Regions from separate parts of the Homo sapiens genome. Here region 2 is linked to region 1. The links are contacts of gene promoters, found by promoter capture Hi-C in human tissues and cell types (Jung and others, 2019). All regions are on one chromosome and are shown on one strand. Each heading gives the region's core, a stretch centred on a gene start or on the middle of the fragment in contact. The rest is flanking DNA. Distances are from core to core; before and after follow the strand shown. Region 1 holds the start of TXLNB (taxilin beta). Region 2 has its middle 570 kb from the start of MIR4465.

The links. Contacts are between HindIII fragments. The study calls those that stand out against the background at their distance.
Region 2: a fragment that was not itself captured here is called in contact with the fragment with the promoter of TXLNB in region 1 in 1 of the 25 tissues and cell types used here (H1 embryonic stem cells).

The regions. Positions count from the first base shown.
Region 1 is chr6:139,290,250-139,293,656 of GRCh38, reverse strand. TXLNB (taxilin beta) reads left to right here and starts at 1,659. Exons shown (of 10, transcript NM_153235.4): 1 at 1,659-1,736. All of the region lies in intron 4 of LOC102723690 (a long non-coding RNA gene), which reads right to left. RefSeq lists enhancers at 2,435-2,684, 2,885-2,944 and a silencer at 2,531-2,825. The HindIII fragment of the contact is 6,084 bases long and covers 819-3,407 here.
Region 2 is chr6:141,256,719-141,260,125 of GRCh38, reverse strand. No RefSeq gene overlaps it. Among named protein-coding and RNA genes, the nearest start is that of MIR4465, 570 kb to the right of the region's middle. The HindIII fragment of the contact is 9,295 bases long and covers 1-3,407 here.

The DNA.
Region 1 (3,407 bases), core at 410-2,909:
GCCATAACATCTTATCACAAATTTAGCAGCTTAAAAATAACATAAGTTTGCTATTTTATATTTCTGGAGGTCGGAAATCCAAAACGAATTTCTTTGATCTAAGATCAATGTCGCAGGATTGCATCCCTCTGGAGGCTCTAGAGTATAATCTGTTTCCTTGCCTTTCCCAGCTTCTAGAAGCTTCCTGACCTATGCTGAGGTCATCAAATCTCCTTTTCTGCCTCCAATCCTACTGCCTTCCTCCCTCATTTATAAAGACCCTTATGAGGCTGAGTGCAATGGCTCACGCTTATAATCCCAGCACTTTGGGAGGCCGAGGTGGGCGGATCATGAGGTCAGGAGTTCGAGACCAGCCTAGCCAACACAGCGAAACCCCGTCTCTACTAAAAATACAAAAATTAGCTGGATGTGGTGGCAGGCGCCTGTAATCCCAGCTACTTGGGAGGCTGAGGGAGGAGAATCGCTTGAACCCGGGAGGTTGCAGTGAGCTGAGATTGCACCACTGCACTCCAGCCTGAGTGACAGAGCGAGACTCTGTCTCAATAAATAAATAAATAAATACCCTTATGATTACATTGAACCCACCCAGTAGTTCAAGATAACCTCCCTACCTCAGGATCCTTCCTCACATCTGCAAAGTCTCTTTTGTCATGTAAAGAAACATATTCACAGGTTCCAGGGAGTAGGACGTGGAGATCTTTTGGGTGGCATTATTCTGCCTCCCACAAGGGATGCCACTATGCCTAGCCTGTCCCCAGAGCAGAAACCGATGGAGGAATCTGCTTTGGAAGTATGGGAACACAAGCTCCAGAAAGAAAAATAAAAGGCAAATGGATGTAAATTAATAGACAGGCATTTTATGGTGAATCAGAAGGAATTTCTTTTTCTGAGGAGGATCAAGGAGCATGTTGAGGATTTACAAAATGTGGGAAAGCCACCAACTAAGGAAGAAAAAGCAGACTGCTTCCCTGAGGGTTTGTTTGAGATGGGAAGAGTTACCTGGGAAAGACTGTGCTCCAAGGTCACACCAATTACCACGTGCATGAAGATTATACTCAGTTCAGCTCCAAAATCACCATCTACATGTTTATTTCAAACTTTGCAAACAAACCAAACAATGACATCAGAATTAAAATGGTTCCACCACCTCCCTGTTCTTATGCCATTGTTTTTCTTTTTCCATGATTCCTGTAAGAAACCTGACACTAATTAAGCTAGTGCAAGAAGAAGAAGAAAAAGAAGATGAATCTTCCACCACACTGGAGATAACCCAAGAAGTAAGAAAAACTGATCTCTACCCAAAAAGGACAACAATGGTGAAAGACTGCATTTGCAACGGGGGTAATATACTCAGAGTTTAAATTTCCGAAAGGACAAACAAAACATGGAGAGTCTAATGAGATCTTCCAGCTGCTTCTCTCTGCTAAGGTATTTCCCCTGGCAACAGCTAGGGAAGCTTGGGTGTATTTTCCCCTTGCTGTGTCATATGATGTTCCTTTCCCTACCCCCACCTCCTCCAGACTGCTGCCTCCATCAGTGCCTGTGGCGTGTGTGTGTGTGTGTGTGTGTGCGCGCGCGTGCGTGCACGTGTGTATGTGTGTGTGTGTGTATTGGGTTTCTCTCTCCCTTGTAAGAACACAGCCAGCCCGCCCTCTCCTGCTGTTGCTGCAGCTCTGACTTGCTTTTTCCTGCCTCCTTCCTCTCCTCTCTCTTCTTGCTTAGCTTCTTGCCTTCTGGTAAGTATGACAAACACTCCCCCAAGCCCTGTGAGAAGGTATAGGGTGCGGTTTGTGGTGTTCGAAACTTGCAACTTTGAGATTGCCAGTGAACTGTTGGAGAACTTTTCATTGTTGTATTTATAAATAAAATGTGTTGCTTAGGGAGGGATGTGTCTGTGATAGTCATCTGGAATAGCCAACACAAGTGAAAAGTTCTCTCCCTGGGGAGGGGAAAATAAGGCAATAAAGTTTATATAAGATAAAAGTTAGAAATAATTTCTTTGCCACATAATATAAAATGGATGATTGAAAAGTAACAAAGTTCTCTGACTTTGTTTTTTTCCCTCTTGTTAACTTGTCTTGAGGCTACTTTTGGGAATTGAATTGTCCTGGGCTTTATAATGACTGTTCTGTTTTAAAGTAAATGTGGAACAGGAGTTTAAAGAATAGCCATGGAATTAAGAATTTAAAAAATCAATGATTGTGGCATCTCATGAAGAATAAATCAAATACAAACAGCCACTTGCATTTAGACTAACCGAAGTAAAACTCCTATGGACAGCTTATCTTAAATTAATTATTTTGAAGTTCATTTTACTTGAGATTTTATTTCATCCTAAGATAGTCTCCCCGACTTTAAAACCCATGTATGGATTTAAGCCACTAAATGTTTACTGTTTTCAATTTGACTGAAAAACGATTCTCTTGATTTTCAAGGATGAAGTGCTAAACGGCATGACTCATTTTAGAATAGCTTAAAATAACTTCTGGCTGGACAGCAGGTGCCGTGTGTCTTTCTCCGTGTTCAGGGGAGGCCTAAGTTATATATAGATGAGTGCAATCAACAAGTGAGGTCAGGAAAAGAAATCCCAGTGATGAAAATAATGAAACTGCTGCATTATTTGATAATCAAGTTGGTGAATTCAAACCAGTGAAAGAAAAAAAGTACTTCCTCTAAGTTATGAGTGTTTGGTGAGCATCACAAGTCAGTGGCAACATCTGTGTGTTGAATTTTCTGTTCTTGTTGGTGTCTGAGCATTCAATTGACATCTACTGCCCTGAGAACAGGAAAAGGAAGCTGTGCAGTTGTAGAACAGTATGCTTTTGTTTTCACTTTCATGTTACCACAACAGCAAAACCTGTGAATTATGAGGATCTTGCCACATTTTTATGCTGCTATTTAGCAGCATCACTGTTAAATATTATTTACAAATAAAATGCACCATAACTTAAAGGCCTAAACCAAATCTATTGCAACTCTAGAAGTGGTAATAGTCAGAAACCCTGGAATCTCTGACTCAGTACCATCTCTCACCCTTTCCTAAGGGCCCTTATTATTGCTGAATTATTTCTCGAGTTGGTCTCCTCCTTGTTTATGAAACATTGCTACTTCTTAAAAATCATTAAGTTTTTCTAGAGCTTCCTGACTTAGAAGAGAAAGTTGTAATCTGTTTTTCTCTTTTAAAAAATTGGTTTATATATTGGAATAAAAGAGTATTATAGAAATTTAAGGAATTGTTGTTATAAGTATCATCATGCTTTTGTTTTGTTTAGTTTTTGAGACGAAGTCTTGCTCTGTCACCCAGGCTGGAGTGCAGTGGCACGATCTTGGCTCACTACAGCCTCCGCCTCCCAAGTTCAAGCAATTCTCATACCTCAGCCTCCCAAGTAGCTGGGACTACCGGTGCC
Region 2 (3,407 bases), core at 631-3,130, 2.0 Mb before region 1:
ACCACTCTGTGTGTCGTTGCATACCCATAGATTAGCTCCCACTTATAAGTGAGACCATGTGGTGTTTGGTTTTATTCCTGAGTTACGTCATTTAGAATAATGGCCTCCAGTTCCATCCAAGTTGCTGCAAAAGACATTACTTCATTCTTTTCTGGCTCAGGAGTATTTCGGGATTATTTTCATACTTTCATTTTTGGATTGTTTATTTCAAGTATGTGGAAATGCAACTGATTATTGTCTGTTAATATATCTTGCAAATTTGCTGAACTCATCAACTAGCGTTAACTCTAACAGTTTTTTAAAAATTAATTCTTTACAATTTTCTGTGTGTAAGACTATGTGTCTTTATAAATAGGAATAGTTTTACTTCTTCTTTTCCACTATTTATGCTTTTTATTTAATCCCTGTCCTAATTATCCTGGCTAGAACCAGTACAGTGTTGAATAGCAGTGGTAAAAATAACATTGTTGTCTTGTTCCTAATCTTAGGGATCTGAAGGATCTCAGGAAAGCATACAGTCTTTCACCATTAAGGATGATGTTATCTATGGGTTATCGTAGGTCTAATTAATCAGAATAACGTTCCTTCTGATTTTAGTTTGTTGAGTGTTTCTATTAAGAAATGGTTTTGGATTTTTTTCAAATGCTTATCGTCTATCCATTTAGATGATCATGTGGTTTTTCTTTTTAATACCATTGATATTGTACATTACATTAATTTGCTTTGGAATAAGTAAAACAACTTTAAATTTCTGGAATAAATTCATTTATTTATAATGTTGCATAACACTTTTTATATGTGGTTGGATTCAGTTTGCTTGTATGCTGTCCAGGATTTTTGCATCTGTTTTCATACTTAACAGTCTGTAATTTTCTTGCGATGCCTTTGTTTGGTTTTAGTATCGGGGTCAGGGTATTACTGGCCTTACAAAATAAGGTGGTACTCCCCTCTTGTAATTTTGGAAGAGTTTGAAAAGAATTTTTAATTCTTTAAACTTTTGGTAGAATTCACCAGTGAAGTCATCTGAGGCTGGCATATTCTTGTGTGGATAGATTCAGATTACTAATTCAACTTATTTATTTGTCATAGGCCCACACAAATTATTTTTGTTTTGTTTTATTTTGTTTTGTTTTGTTTTTGAGACAGAGTCTTGCTCTGTCAACCAGGCTGGAGTGCAGTGGTGCTATCTCAGCTCACTGCAACCTCCACTTCCTGGGTTCAAGCGATTCTCCTGCTTCAGTCTCCAGAGTAGCTGGGACAACAGACATGTCCCACCATGCCCGGCTAATTTTTGAATTTTTAGTAGAGACGGGGTTTTACCATGTTGGCTAGGCTGGTCTTGAACTCCTGGTCTCAGGTCATTTGCCCGCCTTGGCCTTCCAAAGTGCTGGTATTGCAGATGTGAGCCACTGCATCCGGCCCAACTTGTATTTTTAATCTGAAATCATTTTTGGTAGTTTGCATCTTTCTGGGAATTTTTCCATTTTAACAAAGTTGTGTAATTAGTTGGCATTCAAATATTCATAGTACTCTTTTACAACATTTTTTAATTTCCTTGAAGTTGGTTATAATGTTGCCTTCCTCATTTCTAATTCTAGTAACTTGAGAATTTTCTCTTCTTAATTGATCTACCTGGATAAGGTTTGTCGATTTGTTAATCTTTTTCTAAAACTCAGTTTTCAATGCAATTGATTTTCTCTATTGTTTTTCTATTATTTATTTCATTAATTCCCTCTCTAACTTTTATTCTATTATGCTTTCTGCTTGCTTTACATAGTTTTCTCTTTTTTCCCCAGTGTCCTCATCATGCAAGTGGAAAATTGATTTCAGATCTTTATTCTTTCTAAATAAAGGTATATACAGTTATTAATCTCCCTGTAATCACTGCTTTAGTTACATACTATATGTTTGAACATGTTGTTCCTTTATTTTCATTAATCTGATAGTAATTTCAAAATTTCCTTTTGGTTTCATCTTCGACTCATTGATTATTTAGGAATATGTGGTTTTATTTTCACATGTTTGTGAGTTTTCCAAATTTCTTTCTCTAATTGATATCTAATTTTATTCAGCTGTGGTTAGAGAAGACACTTCACATCATTTGTAGTTTTTAAAATCTATTGAAGTTTATTTTGGGCCAAGCACATGGTCTACCTTGTGAGTTTTCAACTTTACTGTAGAAAAACTTGTGTTCTGTTGCTCTTAGGTGGCAGGTTTCACAGACATTTATGGTGTTCTAAAGATGACCAGCTGGTTTATAATGTTGTTCAAGTCATTTATTTTCTTGTTAATCTTTACTAGATTTTTTATCCATTATTGAAATTGAGGTATTGAACTTTCCAATTATTGCTGTCAAACTGTGTCTTTACTGCTTTTTTTTTGTTTCATGTATTTTGGCACTCTGTTTTTAATTGCATATATGTTTACAATTGTTATATCCTTGTGGTAGATGTTTTTATTATTATAAAATATTCCTCTTTATCTCTCTAGAAACTTTTTAAAATTCGTTTTTAAGGCTTTTTATCTGATGTCAGTAGAGCCACTATATCTTTCTTGTGATGGCAGTTTGCATGAAATATCTTTTCCAGCTTTCACTTTCACACTATTGCATCTTTGAATCAGAAATATGTCCCTTGTAGACAGAATATGATTGATGCTTATTTTGTGTTGTTTTGCTTTAATCCTGTCTGGCAATTTGCCTTTTCATTGGATTGTTTAATGTATTCCAATTTAATATTACTGTGGATATAATTGGATTTACATCTGCCATTTTACCTTTTGTTCTCTATATGTGGCATGTCATTTTTGTTCCTCTATCCTCCTTTAATATCTTTTTTTGCTTTAAGTGAATATTTTATAATGTAACACTTTAATAATTTTAATTATTTACTCTTTCAGTGTTTACCTTAATGGTTGACCTAGGACTTGCCCCCTATATCTTTTCAGCTACATCTTTATATTCACATTCACTTAATTTCAGTGAAATATGTAAATTTTTCCCCCATATAGCTCTATTCACTTTGGGTATTATTGTTCTACAAATTATATCTATGAATATTATGCATTCAACAATACAGTTATAATTATTACTTTACATGATTTTGTCATTCAAAGAAGAAATAAGTAAGTATAATACATATTTATAGATTTCATTATTTTAATTTTCTTATATATCATTTCTGATTCTCTTCATGTGTTCCTTTACTATGAGTTACTGTCTTCAGTCTACTTGAAGTTCTTTGAGATTTTTAAATGCATAGATTAATATTTTTCAAAAAATTTGAGACATTCCAGCAATTATTTATTTTAATTTCTTTTTCTGATTCTTTATTTCTCTCTACCCACACTGATTCTCCTACTATATGTATATTAATGCACTTAAAGGTGACCAACATGTCTCTGAAGCT